Regions from separate parts of the Homo sapiens genome. Here all the other regions are linked to region 1. The links are contacts of gene promoters, found by promoter capture Hi-C in human tissues and cell types (Jung and others, 2019). All regions are on one chromosome and are shown on one strand. Each heading gives the region's core, a stretch centred on a gene start or on the middle of the fragment in contact. The rest is flanking DNA. Distances are from core to core; before and after follow the strand shown.

What was found. The method cuts DNA at HindIII sites, captures the fragments that hold promoters and counts their contacts. A contact is called where the count stands out against the background at its distance.
Region 2: a contact is called between the fragment with the promoter of FSTL3 here and the fragment with the promoter of TMEM259 in region 1, in 1 of the 25 tissues and cell types used here (hippocampus).
Region 3: the fragment with the promoter of PRSS57 here is called in contact with the fragment with the promoter of TMEM259 in region 1 in 1 of the 25 tissues and cell types used here (dorsolateral prefrontal cortex).
Region 4: the fragment with the promoter of EFNA2 here is called in contact with the fragment with the promoter of TMEM259 in region 1 in 1 of the 25 tissues and cell types used here (spleen).

The regions. Positions count from the first base shown.
Region 1 is chr19:1,017,540-1,022,372 of GRCh38, reverse strand. It overlaps TMEM259 (transmembrane protein 259), which reads left to right and starts at 1,250. Exons shown (of 11, transcript NM_001033026.2): 1 at 1,250-1,601. The coding sequence starts at 1,377. It overlaps RNU6-2 (RNA, U6 small nuclear 2), which reads right to left and starts at 851; the gene lies at 745-851. RefSeq lists silencers at 1,059-1,168, 1,329-1,398, 1,429-1,488, 3,747-3,966 and an enhancer at 2,764-3,363. The HindIII fragment of the contact is 9,371 bases long and covers 1-2,149 here.
Region 2 is chr19:673,980-678,812 of GRCh38, reverse strand. It overlaps FSTL3 (follistatin like 3), which reads right to left and starts at 2,421. Exons shown (of 5, transcript NM_005860.3): 1 at 2,287-2,421; 2 at 836-1,021. The coding sequence starts at 2,389. RefSeq lists an enhancer at 1-67. The HindIII fragment of the contact is 14,894 bases long and covers 1-4,833 here.
Region 3 is chr19:692,824-697,656 of GRCh38, reverse strand. PRSS57 (serine protease 57) reads left to right here and starts at 2,205. Exons shown (of 5, transcript NM_001308209.2): 1 at 2,205-2,305; 2 at 2,690-2,843. The coding sequence starts at 2,227. The HindIII fragment of the contact is 19,970 bases long and covers 1-4,833 here.
Region 4 is chr19:1,283,035-1,287,867 of GRCh38, reverse strand. EFNA2 (ephrin A2) reads right to left here and starts at 1,995. Exons shown (of 4, transcript NM_001405.4): 1 at 1,560-1,995. The coding sequence starts at 1,699. RefSeq lists enhancers at 1,910-2,410, 2,411-2,911, 4,435-4,833. The HindIII fragment of the contact is 32,397 bases long and covers 1-4,131 here.

The DNA of each region.
Region 1 (4,833 bases), core at 1-2,500:
AATAGCCGGGTGTGGTGGCGGAAGCCTGCAATCCCAGCTATTCAGGAGGCTGAGGCAGAGAATTGCTTGAACCCAAGAGGCGGAGGTTGCAGTGAGCCGAGATCACGCCACTGCACTCCAGCCTGGGCGACAGAGTGAGACTGCGTCTCAAAAAAAAAAAACAACACAAAACTTTTTTTTGGCGGGCTTGGTGGGTCACACCTGTAATCCCAGCACTTTGGGAGGCCTAGGCGGGCAAATCACCTAAAGTTAGGAGTTCGAGACCAGCCTGACCAACATGGAGAAACCGTCTCTACTAAAAATATAAAATTAGCCTGGAGTGGTGGCGCATGCCTGTAATCCCAGCTACTTGGGAGGCTGAGGCAGGAGAATGGCTTGAACCCGGGAGGCGGGGGTTGCAGAGAGCCGAGATCGCGCTTCTGCGCTCCAGCCTGGGCGACAGAGCGAGAATCCATCTCAAACAAACAACCAAAAAACCCAAAAACCATAGTATCCTCTTGTGTACGCAGCCGGCACTCAGTAAGTGCCCCTGAAGAGCACTTATTTATTCATTGCTGCGCGAAGCTACGGGGGCAGGTGGCACAGCGCCACGCAGGAGTAGAGACTGCCAGATTGTTCTACCGCCAACCTTAGTGGCGCCACAGGAGATGGACACGGGAAGACTATGACGTTACTGGCCCTGTGACGTCATGGCAGGATCCGGGCAAGAGAAGCCAAACGAGGTGACGAGCTGTAGACTACAGCAAAAATATGGAACGCTTCACGAATTTGCGTGTCATCCTTGCGCAGGGGCCATGCTAATCTTCTCTGTATCGTTCCAATTTTAGTATATGTGCTGCCGAAGCGAGCACGACTCAAGGGTTACTGTCACACCTATTTTAAGCCCTTCAATCAAATCATCTTTTGGTTAGGATAACTTATGGTCGGTTTCATATTTAGCATAATTTCCTACAGTGGTATGTTGCAGAACAACTTTCGTGCTTACGCTTACTTTGATGTCTTCGATCACGTAAAATCCCATATCTTATCGTAATTTTACCGCCTTATACTGGCCTCATAGCCGCGGTGGATTGTGGGTGCCAATATGCAAAAGAGGTGGCCCAGATGCAGGCCCGCCCCCTGGAGCGGCCGAGGTAGGGGGTGAGGCCTCCGCGGGCGCCGCTGGCATCCCAGCGTTCTCTGCGGGCGCAGGGGGGCCGCTCTTGCCCGGCGTGGCGACTCGCTAGCGTCAGCAGCGCCGCAGCCGGACGAGAAAGCGGAAGATGGCGGCGGCGGCCGGGAGGCCGTGAGGAGAGCGGCGGCTGCGAGGGCGGCCGATGGCGGCCGGGAGGCGCCCTCGGACACTTGCGGGTCGTTAGGGCGCGACGCTGGGAGGCATGTCGGAGCACGTGGAGCCCGCAGCTCCGGGGCCCGGGCCCAACGGCGGCGGCGGCGGCCCGGCCCCCGCGCGCGGGCCTCGCACCCCCAATCTCAACCCCAACCCCCTCATCAACGTGCGCGACCGGCTCTTCCACGCGCTGTTCTTCAAGATGGCTGTCACCTATTCGCGGCTCTTCCCGCCCGCCTTCCGCCGTCTCTTCGAGTTCTTCGTGCTGCTCAAGGTGACCGCGGCCCCGACCCCCGACCCTTGACCCCAGCGGCTGTCCCGACCCCCAAGTCTGCTACCTCCGACCGCGACCCCTGGCCCCGCTGGGGACAGCGAGCGCCACCCTGCACCCTGAGGCCTATACCCGGCCCTACCGATTAGGGCTCTCCCTCGCGACCTCTGACCCTGGGATTGGCCAGGGACACCGTCTCGTGACCCCATCCCGCCCGGGGACGTCCACCCGGGAAGGCCGGATCCCGCTGCACTAGAAGCCGCTGTTCTCTACTCTGGAAACCTCACTGTCAGCTCCCTCCAGGGCCCATCCTGTCCCCGGCGACCGCCTTTCCCAGGTCCCCACCTACCCAGGCTTGGAGTCCGGTCCTGGCCTGCGAGGTAGCACCTCCCGCCCTTTGACCCCTGACTGTGCCGCCTGAGACCCTCAGTTCCGAGGCCTCTCTCCCCTCCCAATGTGCTGGCCCAGAACCCAGCCTGACGCAGGTCTCCCTCGGACCAACCCCTGTCCTGGAAGTCGACTCCCCACTCCCCTCTCTCCCTCCTTGTAGCCTTTCAGCTGCGTTCCCCGCTCCTGAGCCTCAGGGGAATGTGACTTAGCTGAGGTCACCTCGCTAGGGTTAGCGGCAAAGTCACCGGCAGCAGCGTACCACCCCATCCCCGGCCTCTTCCTCCGCTGGGTCCCCACTCCCTTCCTGCTTCAGGAGCTCAGGTTGTGGGTCTGTCGCCCGTGCCTCCCCTATGAGGCACCGGCCTCCGCGTCTTGGGCTCTGTCCCCCTCCCGCCCTCCTCAGATGGCAGAGGTCTCAGCCGTGCAGGACAGGCATCGGCCTGACTCCCTCTGAGAAGGAGTCTTGCTTGGGTGACAAGAGGGGCTCAGTAGCAGCTGCAGCCCCTCAGAAAACAAGCTGGCCGGGGTCCTGGGCCACCTGGCGAAATGGGGACGTGGCCGTTTTCGTTCTGCATCAGAACACCGCCGCGCCGGGGCTTGGGGGCTGCTGAAGTTGCGCCGTGAGCTTTTTGGATCTAGCCTGCAAAGAGGGGTCCGATGCTGGCGGGCCAGGCTGCGATCGTGGGCAAGTTCCCAGCCTGACACAGGTTGGTCAGGAGCTGGCTGCTTTTTTGGGCTCGGCAAGTGGAGCTGGACCTTGGCCGTCCTGCGGACCTGGGTGTGGGTCCCAGCCTGCTGCCACTTCACGGAAGGCCCCCCAGCCTCCAGATCCGTGCCTCCCCAGGCCAGAGCTCAGCCCATCATCCTTCCCACCTTCCTCCCTGCAGCCCCCCAGAGTGGCATGGTCGCCTCAGTAGGCACCTGAGCAGGGCTGTGAAGGGTTACGCAGGCAGGCGGCCTTTCCCGGCTCTGGGGTCCACAGACGGGGCCTGAAACTGTGGACGGAGGCTGGTCTGTGGACGTGGGTTTTCCTTCCATGGAGTAGCCTGGGAACAGGATGGAGCCACTGTGTCCTTAGGCTTGTGGAGGGTGTGTGCTGGGTGCCAGGCCAGGTTCCCCCGACGGAGCTCAGCCTCCTTGGGAGGTGCATCCCTGTCGCCTGGGCCCTGGTCCCACCATGTCCCGGTTTGGAAAGGGATCAAGCCTACCCGGCTCCATCTCCAGGCCAATACCACTCACAGGTGGTCAGATGGGGCTGGGCCAGAGCTGGAGTTCCCCGTCTTCTGTGTAGGGTGGAGACTCTTGGGAGGTTCTCAGTAACCCCAATCCCTCCTCTCTCAGCAGAGGGCTTTGGACTGTGAGATCTCTGGGTGGTGAATTTTTTTTTTTTTTTTTTTGAGATGGAGTCTTGCTCTGTCACCCAGGCTGGAGTGCAGTGGTTTGATCTCGGCTCACTGCAAACTCCACCTCCTGGGTTCAAGCAATTCTTCTGCCTCAGCCTGCGGAGTAGCTAGGATTACCGGTGCCCACCATCACAACCGGCTAATTTTTTTGTCTTTTTAGTAGAGACTGGGTTTTGCCATGTTGGCTAGGCTGGTCTCAAACTGCTGATTTCAGGTGATCTGCCCGCCTCGGCCTCCCAAAAGGCTGGGATTACAGGCGTGAGCCACCATGCCTGGCCTGGGTGGGGAAATCTGTTCTTTGTGAATTTTCCACCCGGTAATCTGGTGGCACAGAATCTGACCCTGCTGCCTTCACTTTTACTTATCTGCAAAGTGCAGGCTGGAACTGCCTGATTTCAGAGGCTGCCTTGAGTTCCAGAAGGCTCCTCTGCTTCCTGCCTGCCTGGCTTCCGGGGGTCTCCCTGCAGAGAGCCAGGTCCTCCCTGGTATGATCCCTTCAAGGTGGCTTCATCCTGTGGCATCTGTGCAGCTGAGCTCCCAGCCCTGAGCTGGCATGGAGTCCCCCAGCTCTCACCCATGCCTGGGTGGCTTTAGGAAATGCCAGGATCTCCCAGCTCTGAGCCAGCATGGAGCCCCCCGGTCCCTCATCCATGCCTGGGTGGCTTTAGGAAATGCCAGGCAGTGCCAGGTGCTGGGGAGAGAGGAGGCGGCAGGGGCCTGTGTTCCAGGGGCCCTCGGGAGACCTCCATCCAGCCTCAGTATCCACCTCTGCTGGCCTTCATGGCCCTGAGCCCAGTGTGGCAGAGACTGTCCATCTTGGGGCACTGGGTGCCTGCACCTGTGCGGTTGGGCTCTGGACCCAGGTGACCACCAAGTGGATGCCCACAGGGTGAAGGGGTCTCGACTCAGCACCCCTGGACATGGGCAGGGGCCCGCGCCTAGCCACAGGGAGTAATGGGGCTCCTCTTGTGGGGTCGTGACGATTAAAGACGGGGTATGTGAGACCCCAGGGGCCCTGCTCTGAATGGGGGACCTGTCACATTGAGGCCACTGTGAGGCTGCAGTGGAAGGAGAGGCCCCGGTGGCCTGGAGGCAGGAAGCACCCCGGGTGGACAAAGGGGAGCCCCAGGTAGTGTTTCCTGGCTGGGGCTGAGGGCTCTGTGTCCCACCTGGGAGGAGAGTGTGGCTCCGCGGGCTTGTGTGTCCGTCGGTCTGTGGGTCAGTCAAATACCCAGAGAGCGGGCAGGCTGCTCCTGGCACTCCAGGTCTGTGGGGAGACAGGAAAGGAAAGGCCCACCCAGTGGCCGAGTGTTGGGGTGCCCTGAGAGCCTCGGCCAGAACATCCAGGAAGCTTCCTGGAGGAGGCGGTGAGCACGGCCCCAGGCTGGGGGAGGTGCTCCTGTGGGTGCAGCCGTGTGTGGGCTGACCCGGAGGAAGGAAGG
Region 2 (4,833 bases), core at 1,172-3,671, 340 kb after region 1:
CAGGCCAGGCATGGTGGCTCACGCCTGTAATCCCAGCACTTTGGGAGGCCAAGGCTGGCAGATCACTTGAGGTCAGGAGTTTGAGACCAGCCTGGCCAATGTGGTGAAACCCTGTCTCTACCAAAAACATAAAAATTAGCCAGGTGTGGTGGCGCGCGCCTGCAGTCCCAGCCCCTGGGGAGGCCGAGGAAAGAGAATCACCTGAACCTCGGAGGCCGAAGTTGCAGTGAGCCAAAATCGCACCACTGCACTCCAGCCTGGGTGACAGAGCGAGGCTCCATCTCAGGAAAAAAAAAAAAAAAAAAAAAAAAAACCATCATCCTCCAGTGCGGAGAATCTTATTCATTCGTTCTGTGCCACTCGCCAACCAAGAGCCCCTAGTCTGATGTGGGAGGCATCCTCTCAAAACAGGGTCCCGAGGCAAATGCTTGTTAAACATGCAGCTGTAACCCCACCGCAGACCCTGGAGTCTGCAGTGAAGGTCCCTGGTGTGGACATTTGGGGTCACAGGCCAGAATGGCAAACCCACCTTCCCAGGAGCTAGGTGCAAGCCAGACATTTATCGACCAGGTGGGAAGAGCCACCCAGGCAGAGAGCTCAGCCCCAGCAAAGGCTGGAGCCACGTGGTCTCTTCCTGAGTCCTGAGCTGCAAGAGGCTGGAGCCTGGGAACCGGGAAGTCCCCCCAGTCCCTCTCTGAGGCTGGGATCCCCCTGCAGCCTCCTACATACCCCTGTGACGGGCTCAGTCCCTGGACGTTCGGCCCTCGACCACCATGACTGTTTGTGGCTGGTCCTGAGCTGAGACGTCTGCCCTGCTTCTGGCCTGAGGTCTCACCTTTGCAGGGAAGGCAGTGGACAAGGCCCAAGAAGCCGAGGAGGTTGATCTTGTTCCCCGGGTGGGTGAGGTTGGACCAGGCGGTGTCAATGTTGCCGGAGGCACAGCACTCGGCCCGGGTGACATCAGTCTGGAGCACCAGGCTGCAGGTGGCCTCCTGGCCCTGCTGGAGCCAGCAAACACCACCTGCGGGCCGGGGAACGGGGTGCTCTCCTGGGCCACTCCTGACACCCAGCTTCTGGCCCGCCCACAGATGCATGCAGGTGGTGCTGAGTAGTTACGCACGGAATGATCTACCCCCACCCAGGAAGAAGGGGCAGAAAACCACATGGGTGTCCCCACCCTGGCTCCAGAACCCTGGAAATGTCTCCTCCCCTCTGAGCTCCACGTGCCCCCCCCCACAGCCTCACCACCAACCCCCACCCACCCCAGGAGGTCCCTTCCCGTACCCTCCAAGCCCCCAGGCCAGGGGCTGGCACCCTGCCCAACCCCTCAAACACCACCAAACACCAGGCACTGGGCATGTCAGGGTCAGCAGGCCCTGGAGCCGCTTCTCCCGCCTCTGCCCTCTGTCTAGACAGCACCCGAGGGCGAGGGCACGCGGAGCCCCGCGCCTGGCAGCCCCCCCACCGCCTGGCCCGCCTCTTACTCACTCCAACTTGGGAACATTCCCCTTGCATGAGCTCACTGTCTCCCCAGGGACGTGGCCTTCGGGGAGGGGGCTCTGCTCTCCCTTTGGCGCAGGGCTGGGGTGGGGTGGGGCTGCAGGGATGGGGGGTGGGGAGCCAGAGAGCCCCCCATTTCTTCCCCCGTCCCTGGGGGCAGGAACGGCCACAGCCCCCATCCCAGAGCGCTTGCTGGTTCACAGACACTGCCAGGGACCAGCTTGTGGAACGCAGCACCTTGGCACCCATCATAGGAGGGGAAACTGAGGCCAGGAGTGGGGCCGTCTCCTGCCTGGCACCTCCCGGCAAGTCCCAGGTGTGAGACTCCATGCCCCGTCTACCCAGGACCCGGGAAAGCTCTCAGCCCCAGCTGGAGGGCCTGGCTCCCGACACCCAGCACTACCTCTCGGCACCAGGACCGACCCGGACGGTCGCGGCTAGAACCCTGGCTTTGCCTGCTACAGGCTGTGTGACCCTGAGCCTCAGTTTCCCCATCTGGAAGACGGAGATGAAGAGAGCTCCGGCACTATCGGGATGGCACAGGTTCAGGGAGGGGAGAGGTAGACACTAAGCGCTCAATAAATGTCAGCGGTCATTGTGATTAGAAACCTCTGCTCTGCTGACCTCTTGGTGACCCTCCTTCAGACCTTCCCGGCTCCAGCTTGCGCCGGACACCGCCCTCGCCCCCGCCGCCGCCGCCGCGCCCCCCGACGTCCCCCCGGCCGCATTCCGCGCAGCCCCACGTGGGTGGCCCGCCCCGCCCGCCCCTCTGGCCGCCCCACTCACCGGGCGCGGGGTTCCCCGAGCCCATGGAGCTCACGAAGCCCACGGCCCAAGCCAGGGCCCCCCAGGGCAGAGGCCAGAGTGGCCCTGGCGCCCCGGGACGCATGGCGAACGCAGAGACGGCAGCGGCACCGACTTCCCAGCGCGCGGCCGGCGCTCCCTATAAAGGTCCCGCGGGCCGCGGGCGGGGCGGGGCGCGGGGCGGGGCGCGGCGCGGGAGTGGCGGGGGCGAGGCCGTGTCCCGCGCGGGGTGGGCAGGCGCCGGGCCCGGCCGCTGCGGGGGGCAGTTGGGGGCGAGCGCCCGGGTCCCCTTCCGGAGCCAGAGAATGCATTTGGGGAGATGTGGCTGGACCCAGGGCGGAACCGGGACAGGGGTGTGGGTTCGAGGTGGTGGCAGCCTTTTGGGTGGATCGAGGGGCCGTCTCCAGGAATTAAAGTGGGTTTGGGGGTCTTCAGTTTCAGGGGTGGCGGTGAGGTAACGGGGACCCAAGAGGAGCACGTCTGTGGATCCCTGCATCCCGTTTCTGTGATTTGCATGTGGTCACTTTCATGGTCCAAGTGTGGTCTGAGCCCCCCAACCCGGCCTCCTTGTTCCCGACCCGCCCCACACACCCAAAACCTCAGCTGGATATGGTTCCCTGCTCACAGCGCGGGCCGCGCACCCGTCCACCTGGCCGCTGGAGCCGGCCTGTGGGTGGGGAGTGGTTGGGTGTGGGACAGAACGGGGTGCGGCCGGGACAGACCCAGAGACACAGCTCCTTCCAGCATCTCGGACAACAGCAGGCCTCGCCCAGCCACGGCCCCCAGGGAGGCCACTGCGTGTGTGTGTGTGTGTGTGTGTGTGTGTGCGCGCGCACGCCTGGCCTTTGTCCTGGGCCCCTGGGCAGCTCTGCCCCATCAGCCCTCCAAGCCTTTGCAGACATTCCCCCAGATCACCTCAACAAGAATGTTTACTAGGTTTTTTCCTCTCCCTCCAAGATTCAGCAAACACTGTTTCCAGCAGAGGCGTTTCCAACAATGTATGACAGCGACATCTGCGTGGGCCTGGAGGCGCTGCGCCCGAGGGGGCTTTCGTGCAGCCAGACACATTTCCTACTCTGGAGCTGATTCTGTCATGGGGGCCTCCAGATTTGTCAGGCGCCCTTGGCGAGCGCAGGGGAGCCCCTCTGTTCCTGCTTCTAGGGCATCAGTGAACATCTCTTTTGGCCAGAGGGACCCTGCGGGGTGCTGGGGTGCCACGGTGACCAAGGCAGACCCCATCACACCCTCACCGAGCTCCTGGTTTGGACAACAAAATGCAGAGACAAATTAATCTATAACTTCAAGGAGTGGTAAATGCTTTCAGGAAAATACAGAAGGTTGAGGTGGTGGAGAGCGGTTGGGTGTCTGCTGGGCATGCCTGTGTCTGGCCACTCGCTGTGCCGGCATTGCCCACCCCGCAGGTGGAAACGGACGTGTCCAGCAGCCCCACGGCACAGCCCCTTCTCTGGCCTGAGTGAGATCTGTGCCCACAGAAGACACACCTGTACCCTTTCCTCCACCTTAGCTGCCCAGCCTGTGTCCCCCAGCAGCCAGTGGCCAGGGGCCAAGTTCTGCCTTAGTGGCACTGAGGGGGGACACCCCGCCGTCTTGACCTGGCCTTGGCCTCTGGCATTTCCCCCGGGAATCTCCCCGGCTTGGGGAGCAGGGCAGGGACGGGACCCTGTATTCTCACTGAGGGGGGACACCCCGCCGTCTCGACCTGGCCTTGGCCTCTGGCATTTCCCCCGGGAATCTCCCCGGCTTGGGGAGCAGGGCAGGGACGGGACCCTGTGTTCTCACTGAGGGGGGACACCCCGCCGTCTCGACCTGGCCTTGGCCTCTGGCATTTCCCCCGGGAATCTCCCCGGCTTGGGGAGTGGGGCAGGCACAGGACCCTGTGTTCTCACTGACGGGGGACACCCCGCCGTCTCGACCTGGCCTTGGCCTCTGGCATTCCCCCGGGACTCTCCCGGGATTGGGGAGTGGGGCAGGGATGGGACCCTGTGTTCTCACTGAGGATGTGCGGGGGCTGGACAGTGTGACCTTGGCCAAGACCTGACCCCGCCGTGGCTTGGCCACTCCGGCCTGGGCTGTGCGAATCAAAGGGTCATTGTCTGGCTGGCGTGGGTTCCGGCCCTCTCCGGGGAAACCGAGGCCAGCTGCCAGTGGCCTCCTGCTCCCGGCTCTGTCTTCCCTAACCCAGAGGCTCTGTGCAGGGTGACCTCTAACAGGTCACTGACCCTTTCCAGAGCGCCGCCTCCTCCTGAGACCCCAGTGATGACCTCCCCTCTCCCGGCTCTGCCCCTCTCCCCACCCTATCCAGGCCCGAGGCTCATCCTAGGACTTCCAGCCCGCAGCCTGGCCCCTGCGGCCCACTTCCTACCCCAGCTGCCATAACACTTCTCCCTGGCTCAGACACCCACCGTGGCTCCTCGTGGCCTCTGCTCACCCCCCAGGCTTCTGTCTCCCTCCAGGTACATCCTGACAGGTAAACAGACAGTGACAATCCAGTGTTGTTCTGTGGCGGAG
Region 3 (4,833 bases), core at 956-3,455, 330 kb after region 1:
AGCCGAGATCGCACCACTGCAGTCTGGCCTAGGCGAAAGAGCGAGACTCCATCTCAAGAAAATATAATAATAATAATAATAAACGAAATGGCACCAATTTATTCTCTGGCAGTGCTGGAGGTCAGAAGCCCCTGCAGGCCCTTCTGGGCTAACGTCAGGGCATCGGTAGGGCTGGCTTTTCCCGGAGGCTCCAGGAGAAAATTCGTTTCCTGCCGTTTTTTAGCTTCCAGAGGCCGCCCGCATCTCGCAGAGCCCGAGTTCGTTGTGGGGCCTTTTCATACCTTCCTTTCCACGCATTTCCTGTTGCTTCATTTCACTTCATTCTTTATTGAGAACACTTTACATTTGGTAAAACACAGGTCTGGAGCGTTCAATGATGACTTTTTTTTTTTTTTTTTTTTTGAGATGGTGTCTCGCTCTGTCACCCAGGCTGGAGTGCAATGGTGCAATCTTGGCTCACTGCCACCTCCACCTCCCGGTTCAAGCGATTCTCCTGCCTCAGCCTCCCAAGTAGCTGGGATTACAGGCACCTGCCACCACGCCTGACTAATTTTGGTACTTTAAGTAGAGACGGGGTTTCACTATGTTGGCCAGGCTGGTCTTGAACTCCTGACCTCAGGTGATCCACCTGCCTCGGCCTCCCAAAGTGCTAGGATTATAGGCGTGAGCCACTGCACCCGGCCCCAGCCTGTTCATTATTAAGCGCTGACGAGCACCCCACTGCTAGCCACTGCCGTGAACGCCATCACCCGGCTGTGTGAGCTGCAATTTACGACCTGAACTTTGCCACTAAGAACGCTCCCACTGAAAGGTGAAGACCTGCCGGGCTGGGCGCGGTGGCTCAGGCCTGTCATCCCAGCACTTTGGGAGGCTGAGGCAGGTGGATCACCTGAGGTCGGGAGTTCGAGACCAGCCTGACCAACATGGAGAAACTCCGTCTCTACTAAACACACAAATTTAGCGGGGCGTGGTGGTGGGCACCTGTAATCCCAGTTACTCAGGAGGCTGAGGAAGGAGAATCCCTTGAACTCAGGAGACAGAGGTTGCGGTGAGCCAAGATCGCGCCACTGCACTCTAGCCTGGGCAACAAGAGCAAGATTCCTTCTCAAAAAAAAAAAAAAAAAAAAAAAGGCCGGGCACCGTGGCTCATGCCTGTAATCCCAGCACTTTGGGAGGCCGAGGCGGGCGGATCATGAGGTCAGGAGATCGAGACCATCCTGGCTAATATGGTGAAACCCCGTCTCTACTAAAAATACAGAAACAAAATTAGCCGGCTGTGGTGGCGGGCGCCTGTAGTTCCAGTTACTCGGGAGGCTGAGGAACGAGAATCACTCGAACCCGGGAGGTAGAGGTTGCGGTGAGCCGAGATGGTGCCATTCCACTCTAGCCTGGGCAACAAGAGCAAGACTCCATCTCAAAAAAAAAAAGAAAAGAAAAAAAAGGTGAAGACCCCCATGTACAGCCATGTCCCACTGGACTCCGGATCCCACAGAACGTCAGTGCTACAGGCTGGGGTGCGGTCACTGCCTCATCCTCACCTCCTAGCATGAGGTCTGGTATACACTAGGCACTCAATAACTGCTGAATAAAGGCAGAAATCTGCCAGGTGCAGTGGCTGTCTTCTGTGATCTCAGCACTTTGGAAGGCCGAGGAGGGAGGATCGCTGGAGCCCAGGAGTTCGAGACCAGCCTGGGCAACATAGCAAAACCCCACCTATAAAAATAAAATAAAATAAAGGCAGAAATCATCAGAGCTTCCCAGGAGACCGGCCTTCCTCGCTGTCCCCACAGCCCTGAGGTCGGCCCTGGGTTTGGAGATGGGAAGACTGGGGTTTGCGGGGTGGGGGCCGGAGGCGAGCTGCGGGTCTCGAGTGCCGCTGTGACCTCGGTTCCTCGGAAAGCTCCCCACACATGCTGGGCCACGTGGAGGCTGGGTAAACTGAGGCACAGAAGGGTCAATTGCCTTCCCGAGGTCACTTGCAGCCCCAGAGCTGTCTCCTCCTCTCCCTGTTTCCGGACTAGGGGACAATGATTATTATCAACATGATTATTACCAGCCACCACCTGAGACCATCGATTTCTCAGAAACGCCCGCCTGGGCTCCAGGCGTTGCTGGTGGGGCCTCCCGACCACAGGCCACAGCCAGGCTCCCCCTTTCCGGCCGTTGGCTGAGGGTGGGAGCCACGGCCCGAAGACCTCTGCGGGGAGACGCCAGCCTGCGTCTGCCATGGGGCTCGGGTTGAGGGGCTGGGGACGTCCTCTGCTGACTGTGGCCACCGCCCTGATGCTGCCCGTGAAGCCCCCCGGTGAGGAGCCCCCCGGGATCCCCACCCAGGCCCCCGCCAAGTCCCCGTACGGGGGCCACACCCGGGAACCCCCAGTCCCGGGAGAACCCTGGGGAGAGCTCCACCTGCTCCATCTGCCGAGCCCCCGTGGCTGCCTCTGCTGGAAATGGATGGAAATCCGGCCGGGGTCTCTGCCCAGCCCAGCCCTGGATCTCCCGGGCTCGGGAGCCCCTCCCAGCGCATCTGGGGGGCTTGTCTGGGCTCTGTCTCCAGCTCTCTGGGTCTCTCCGTCTCTAATCTCACCCCCTGTCTCTGTCTTGGCCGCTACTTCTCCCCCTGCCCTGACCCCAGCCCCGTCATCCGTTCCTCCCGCCTCGTCCCTGACTCAGGCCGTCCCTCCAGCAGGCTCCTGGGGGGCCCAGATCATCGGGGGCCACGAGGTGACCCCCCACTCCAGGCCCTACATGGCATCCGTGCGCTTCGGGGGCCAACATCACTGCGGAGGCTTCCTGCTGCGAGCCCGCTGGGTGGTCTCGGCCGCCCACTGCTTCAGCCACAGGTGAGCTCACCTGTCGGGCCCCTTCTTTCTGGACACCGTATCCCGACATGAGGGGGACTCCAGGCTGGTGGGGGAGCTGGGGGCGCCGTGGCTCCTGCAGGAGGGGGAGTCTCAGCAGGGGCTGGATTTAAAGGGCAACAAAGGGAAAACAGGAGGATAAGGCAGGGAGGCAAAAGAAGCACAGAAGAAGCAACAGGCGCAACAAGTACATATTCTGTTACTGTAACTGTCACTATGTTCTTTTTTTTTTTTGAGGCAGTCTCGGTTCCCCAGGCTGGAGTGCAACGGTGCAATCTCGGCTCACTGCAACCTCCACCTCCCGGGCTCAAGCGATTCTCCTGCCTCAGCTTCCCGAGTAGCTGGGATCACAGGCGCCCACCACCACACCTGGCTAATTTTTGCATTTTTAGTAGAGACTGGATTTCACCATGTTGGCCAGGCTGGTCTCGAACTCCTGACTTCAAATGATCCACCCGCCTCTGCCTCCCAAAGTGCTGGGATTGCAGGTGTGAGCCGCCATGCCCTGCCTCGTTTTAAACATATTGTTATAATAACTATTAAAATGTATATTGGGGCCAGGGTGGGTGGGTCCCCTCCTGCAGGAGCCCCCACCAGGCACGGGATAGGTTGGTCCTGGGCTGCAGTGTCCCCAGCTCCCCCGCCAGCCTGCAGTCCCCCTCACGTTGGGACACGGTGGATTGTTTGAGGTCAGGAGTATGAGACCAGCCTGGCCAACATGGTGAAACTCTGTCTCTACTAAAAATACGAAAATTAGGCTGGGTGCGGTGGCTCATGCCTGTAATCCCAGCACTTTGGGAGGCCGAGGCAGGAGGATCACGAGGTCAGGAGATCGAGACCATCCTGGCTAATACAGTGAAACCCCATCTCTACTAAAAATACAAAAAAATTAGCCGGATGTGGTGGCAGGCGCCTGTAGTCCCAGCTACCCAGGAGGCTGAGGCAGGAGAATGGCGTGAACCCGGGAGGCGGCGCTTTCAGTGAGCCGAGATCGCGCCACTGCACTCCAGCCTGGGGGACAGAGCGAGACTCTGTCTCAAAAAAAAAATACGAAAATTAGTTGGGCATGGTAGCAAGTGGCTGTACGTATCCCCAGCTACTCGGGAGGCTGAGGTAGGAGAATCACTTGAACCCAGGAGGTGGAGGTGGCAGTGAGCCGAGATGGCACCACTGCACTCCAGCCTAGGGGAAAGAGTGAGATTCTGTCGGAAAAAAAAAAGTTAATTGTGGTTTTTGCCATTTAATTTTTTTCGTGCAATTACTTTTGCACCAACCTAATATTATCACGGGGCCGGCGTGAGCATTAAATGGATTACTGGGCCTCCATTTCATAGATGAGTGGACTGAGGCCCAGACGGGCAGCCGTCACCCCCATCTCACCCACCCCCTCCTCCCCGCAGAGTCCTCCGCACCGGAGCTGTGCTTCTGTGGTCCCAGCTACTTGAAAGGCTGCTGTGGGAGGATCGCTTGAGCCTGGGAGGTCGAGGCTGCAGTGAGCTGTGATCACACCACTGCGGCCTGGGTGACAGAGTGAGACCTTGTCTCAAAAAAAAAAAAAAAAAAAAGGCCGGGTGCGGTGGCTCACGCCTGTAATCCCGGCACTTTGGGAGGCCGAGGCAGGCGGATCACGAGGTCAGGAGATCGAGACTGTCCTGGCTAACACGGTGAAACCCTGTCTCTACTAAAAAAAAATACAAAAAATTAGCCGGATATGGTGGCGGGCGCCTGTAGTCCCAGCTATTCAGGAGGCTGAGGCAGGAGAATGGCGTGAACCCGGGAGGTGGAGCTTGCAGAGAGCCAAGATTGCACCACTGCAATCTTGCCTGGGTGACAGAGCGAGACTCCGTCTCAAAAAAAAAAATTAAAGAAATAAAAAAAGGAGAATATTGAAATTACTGTAGTTAATATTATAATTGAAATAGAACTTATAATAAATATAATAAGTATTATCTTCATTCTAAATATGTTTTTA
Region 4 (4,833 bases), core at 746-3,245, 260 kb before region 1:
TGTTTGGCGTTTGCTAGAACAAAGGACAGGCCACGCTGGGGACGGGAGATTCCGCAGCTGAAACCAAAAACTTGGGCCGGGGAAGCGCTGCCCGCTGGACTCCCCGCACGGCCAGCGACAGCCTTAATCAAACCCACATGTGACCAGCACAGCGGGCGGCTCGGGGACCCGCTCTGAGGTGGGCCAGCCGTCCCCCAGCGGCCCGGGGTCCCTGCCCTCAGCCCCCAGGGCCCGACCCGAGGCCGTTGACCAGGGTGGGGGGTGGGCCTGTGCGTGTTCCCCACCCCCACGGCGGAACACGGGCCGCCCTTGTCCCCGAGCCCGCCTCAAAGAGACCCCTTCATGCAACTTTCCTCCCGGGGACCGAGGACAGCAGGAGACAGAGGGGACAAGGAGGGGTGGCGGGCTCCAGAGGGCGGCTCGGTCGGCACAGGAAGCGGCTGGAAAACGGAGAGAAAGTGACCAGTAGCAGAAGAGTGGGGGGGGGCCGCCTCAGCCCCCGATGTGCAGCTCCGTGTGCCTTAGGAAGACGGTGACACCCTGAGTGCTGGGGCTGACTCCCTCCCGAGCCCCAGGACCCCCAAAGCCCCGGCTCCCACGGGACCCCCAGGGAAGCTGCAGCCTGCTCCTGTCTTGGAGACCCTGGGATGGTTCAGAGGGTTCTACCCACGTCCAGGCCATGGCCAGGCCCCGGCAAACTTTTTTTGCTCTGACCAACGGGGGCTTCTCCTGTCCCCCACGTTGTGCCTGGCCCGGACCTGGTTCAAAACAAGGGGGCCTGCAGCAGGCGGGTGCGGCATCTCGGCCGGGCGTGGCAGGCAGGGCACTGGGCCACCTGGGTCCTGCCCCCAAGTCCCCCCCTTGCATGACCTTGAGCCAGCTCCTCATCCCCTCTGCACCTCAGTTTCCTGGTCAGCGCCCAGAGGACAAGAGAGGACTCCATCCCACTGCCCCTCCCGGGGCTGACCCCCAGCTCCCCGGCCCCTCAGTCTCCTTTCAAAGCTGGGCCCTTGGCCCCCTGGAGTGAAGCAGATGCTGGGTCCTGAGGGAGGGACACTCCAACTTCCCCAAGTTCATCTGGGGACCTGCGGGCAGGACGAACCCAGAGATCCCTCGAGGGCCACAGTCCCCCACCTCCGGTGCCAAGGTCCCCGGGGATCCCCACCAAATGCGAAACCGAGGGGGCTCCCCAGAGAAGCGGGTGGATCAGGGGTCCCCCCAAGTCCAGGCAGGCAACTCAGGGGCTACCCGGCATCGGAGGGTACCAGAGGGGTTCCCCAAACTCCAGGAGACGTCGGCGCTCTGGGGGATGTGGGGCGCGAGTCCCCACAGTCCGTAGGGCAATGGGGCGCCCCGGGGAAGGCAGGCGCGAAAAGGGCGAGTCCCCCAAACTCCGGGGGGCCGGAGCTCCCTGGGGGGCTCCCGCGGGAACCGGGCGCCCGCATCCCGGCGGCGGCGCGCGCGTGGGGGGCGCCCGGAGCTCCGGGGGCGCGAGGCCGGGCGCGGCTTGGGGGGCGTTGGGGGGTCCCCGGGCGCCCCCCGCGCGCGGCCGCGCTCACCTGGGGTTGCTGCGGTTCCAGTAGACGGCGTAGCGGTCCGAGTTGGCGCGGGCGGCGTCCTCGGCGCGCGCGAAGGGCGGCGGCGGCAGCGGTAACAGCAGGAGCAGCAGCGGGAGCAGCGGGCGCTGCGCGGGCGCCATGGCCCCGGTCCGGCCGCCGCGCTCGCTCTCCCGGCCGCCGCCTGCCAGCCTTCTCCGCCTCCTCCGCCGCCGCCGCCGCCGCCGAGCGGGCGGGCGGAGGGCGGGCGGGAGGAGGGCGCGGCGGCGCTTGGAGATCCCGGGCCGCCCCCGCCTCCGCGCGCGCGACCTCGGGCGCCGAGAAGTCAGGCGGCGGCGGGGCGGGGCGCCGGGGTCGCCCCGGGCGCAGGACCCGGCCGCGCGGACTGTCGGAGCGCGGGCCGCCGCCGCCGCACCCGCCGGGGAGGGGCCCGGGCTCCGGCCTTTGTCCCGCCCGAGCGTCGGGAGGGCCGCGGGCGCCCCCTCCCGCCGTGCCCCGGCCGCGCGGGGACTGGGCGGGGGTCTCCAGCCTGCGCCCGCCCCCTGCCCCGGCCCACCCCGTCTCAGGCTCGTCCCCCGGGGCCTGCCCCCAGCGACCCCGATTCTGCGCGCCCCCCGCCGGCATCCGCGTGGCCCGGCCTGGGGTCTCCGAGGGGCGGGGGCGCACCCTGCCTCCCGCGCCCCCACGCGCTCCACCCGGCCCGGCCCTGGGTCCCGGGCCTCTCACCTGCCCGGTTCCAGCGCTATCCGCAGCCTCACCAACCCCGACGCACGCGTCCCAAATCGGGCTCGGCCAACTCCAGTCTCCCTGCGGGGGCCGGGGCAGAGTTTCAGAGGGGCGCTGGCCAAAGTCCAAAGCTGCTCGGGCTGCGACCTCCCTGGGGCCCTCCTGGGAGTCGCCTCTCCGGACCCACGCTGTTCCCTGGGGATGGAGTAAGTCCCTACACCTCAGCCCTAAGGGTGCCGGGAGCATAGTAGGTGGACCGATGTGGAGTGTGAGCAGCTGGGGATGGGATCCAAGAAGCCCAGAGTGAAGCCCCGGCCGACAGCAAATCAGTCTCCACGCACGAATCCTGCAGGCAGGGGAGGGCCGCTGCCCGGGGGCACAGCTTGTGCAAAGACCCGGGGTCTGATCTGTTCAGGGAACGCCGAGTGATTTCTCCTCCTGGTAGGCTGACACAGGTGGGGAACTGGGGGCCTGGCCTCTGCTTTGTCTTTTTTCCAATCTATAGAGACAGTGTCTGGCCATGTTGGCCACGCTGGTCTTGAACTCCTGGGCTCAGGCGATCTTCCCACCTGGGCTTCCCAAAGTGCTAGGATTACAGGCGTGAGCCACTGCACCTGGCCTGCCCTCTGTTTTTGCCCTTATTCATGCCACAGCCTCCCTCACCAGACTCTGAGCTTGTGGAGGGTAGGCTGTCATCAAACGCTGGCTGGACTTTGCTGGCGATGCCCAGATCGTGTTGTACGTCTCTGAATTAGTGTCATTCACCAGGCCCAGTGCAGGAGAGGGAACTGCAGGGCAAGCACCAACAGCCCTTGGACCCGAAGGTCCCTGTGTGAGGCATTACCCAAACTCCTGGCAGGGACCGTGAACCCAGAGATGGGCAAGCTAACCTGTGCCCCAGCAAGGTGGGGTGGGGACCGGACCCACCACCGTCCCACAGCTCTGAGACGTGGTGGGCTCTGTCCTGTGTCTCCTGCGTGCCCTCCTCCCCCGATTCCCCAGCGGGCCACGCGGGCCACACCACCTGACCTTTGTTCAGGCTGGGTCCTGCTGGGAAGTCCTTCCACTTTTTCTTCCTGTTAAAATCTTGCTCTTCCAGAAAGGTCTGTCCCACCCAGTGCTCTAGCGTCCCTGCCAGGACAAGGTTCTCAGTTCTCTCTCCTCCAGGGAGCTCAGCCCGTCTGTTCTGAGCTCCAGGTCTCATCCCCTGACCCCACTACAGACGTCCCAGGTCGAAGGCCCAGGGCTGGCCGGGTGTCTCTTCAGTGGAGGGCGTGAACCTGTCCCAGGTGGTGGCTGAGGCAGGCCCTCTGGACAGGCTCTCTCAGCACCCCTGGAGTGAGGGCCTTGGGTTCTAGCCACACAAGGCTCTGTAGCCCAGACAGGCTGGAGAAGCTTCCCGGGCGGCTCCGTCTGGTGGGGGGCTCTTTTAGGGAGGGGGACGGCCACTCCCGGAGGTGAGCACTTTCGGAGCAGAGTGTGGCGGCTGCACCCAAGCACAGGACAAGGGGCCGTGAGCCTGGGGTCTTGGCGTGCCCGGCCCCAGCATGCCACCTGGCAAAGGTGGGAGTTCTGGAAGCTTCCTTCTACCCTGGGACCAGAAGCCCCCTCCTGCTTCAAGGGATCTCGTGGGTGAGGAGGGGTGGGCCAGGGTCGGGAGGAGGGGGTCTCTTCTCAAACCAGGACTGGGACCTGCACAGGTGGGAGCTGGAAGGGCACCACCTCCACCCAGGCATGGCAGGGCCACTCATTTGCATGCAGGGGCCACCGAGGCGAGAGCCGCCACCACCGCCACCGCTGAACGGATTTGAGCAGAAGCTCCGTTTTCCTTCTGTTCTTGTCTCTCTCAAGGTCAGAGCCCAAGCAGGGACGGGAACAAAGGCGGTGCGTCCCCCATTCAACCTCCCCGCGCCCGCTGGCCGCTCCTAGAGGAAGGACCTGGGGAAGGGAGGGGAGGGCAGGGCGTCTCCGAGGCCTGGCCCTGGGCGAGGCTGCCCCGGCAAACCCCTGCCTGGCAGGGGGGCCACTGTGGGGGTCCAAGAAGCCCTGTTCCCTCCTGGGGCTGGGAGCTGTCCCGGCTTTGGGACGCAGCCGCGGCCGGAGGTCACTCTAGAGTAAGCTTCCTGTGGAGCCAAGGGTCAGAAATCAGGCTCACTCTGGGAACAGGTGTCCGCCAAGGTCAGGGGTTATCCAGGGTCGCCCTCAGTCCCTGGTCTGGAGCCAGTACAGGGCTTGATGGGGTCTGGCCCCGCCCCCTGCTCTGCACTGCTGGGACTGGGGTCTACCCAGACTCAGGAAGGGACTTGTCCAGCCCGTGCCCAGCACCCACTGCCCACATGGCCAGGCCACAGGGCTTGGGATCAGCGTCCCGCAGCCCCTCAGCCTTCAAAGGCCGCGACGCCAGGAGGAAGCTAAAAATATGCGGGGAGAATTTCTCATTACAGAATAAATTGGACCCAATGCGCTGCCTGCCCTGGTGCCGGCAGCCTTCAGAAGCCCCATCTCAGCCAGGCAAGGATCAGGCGGCAGGGGTCACGGGGCGCTGGGGCCC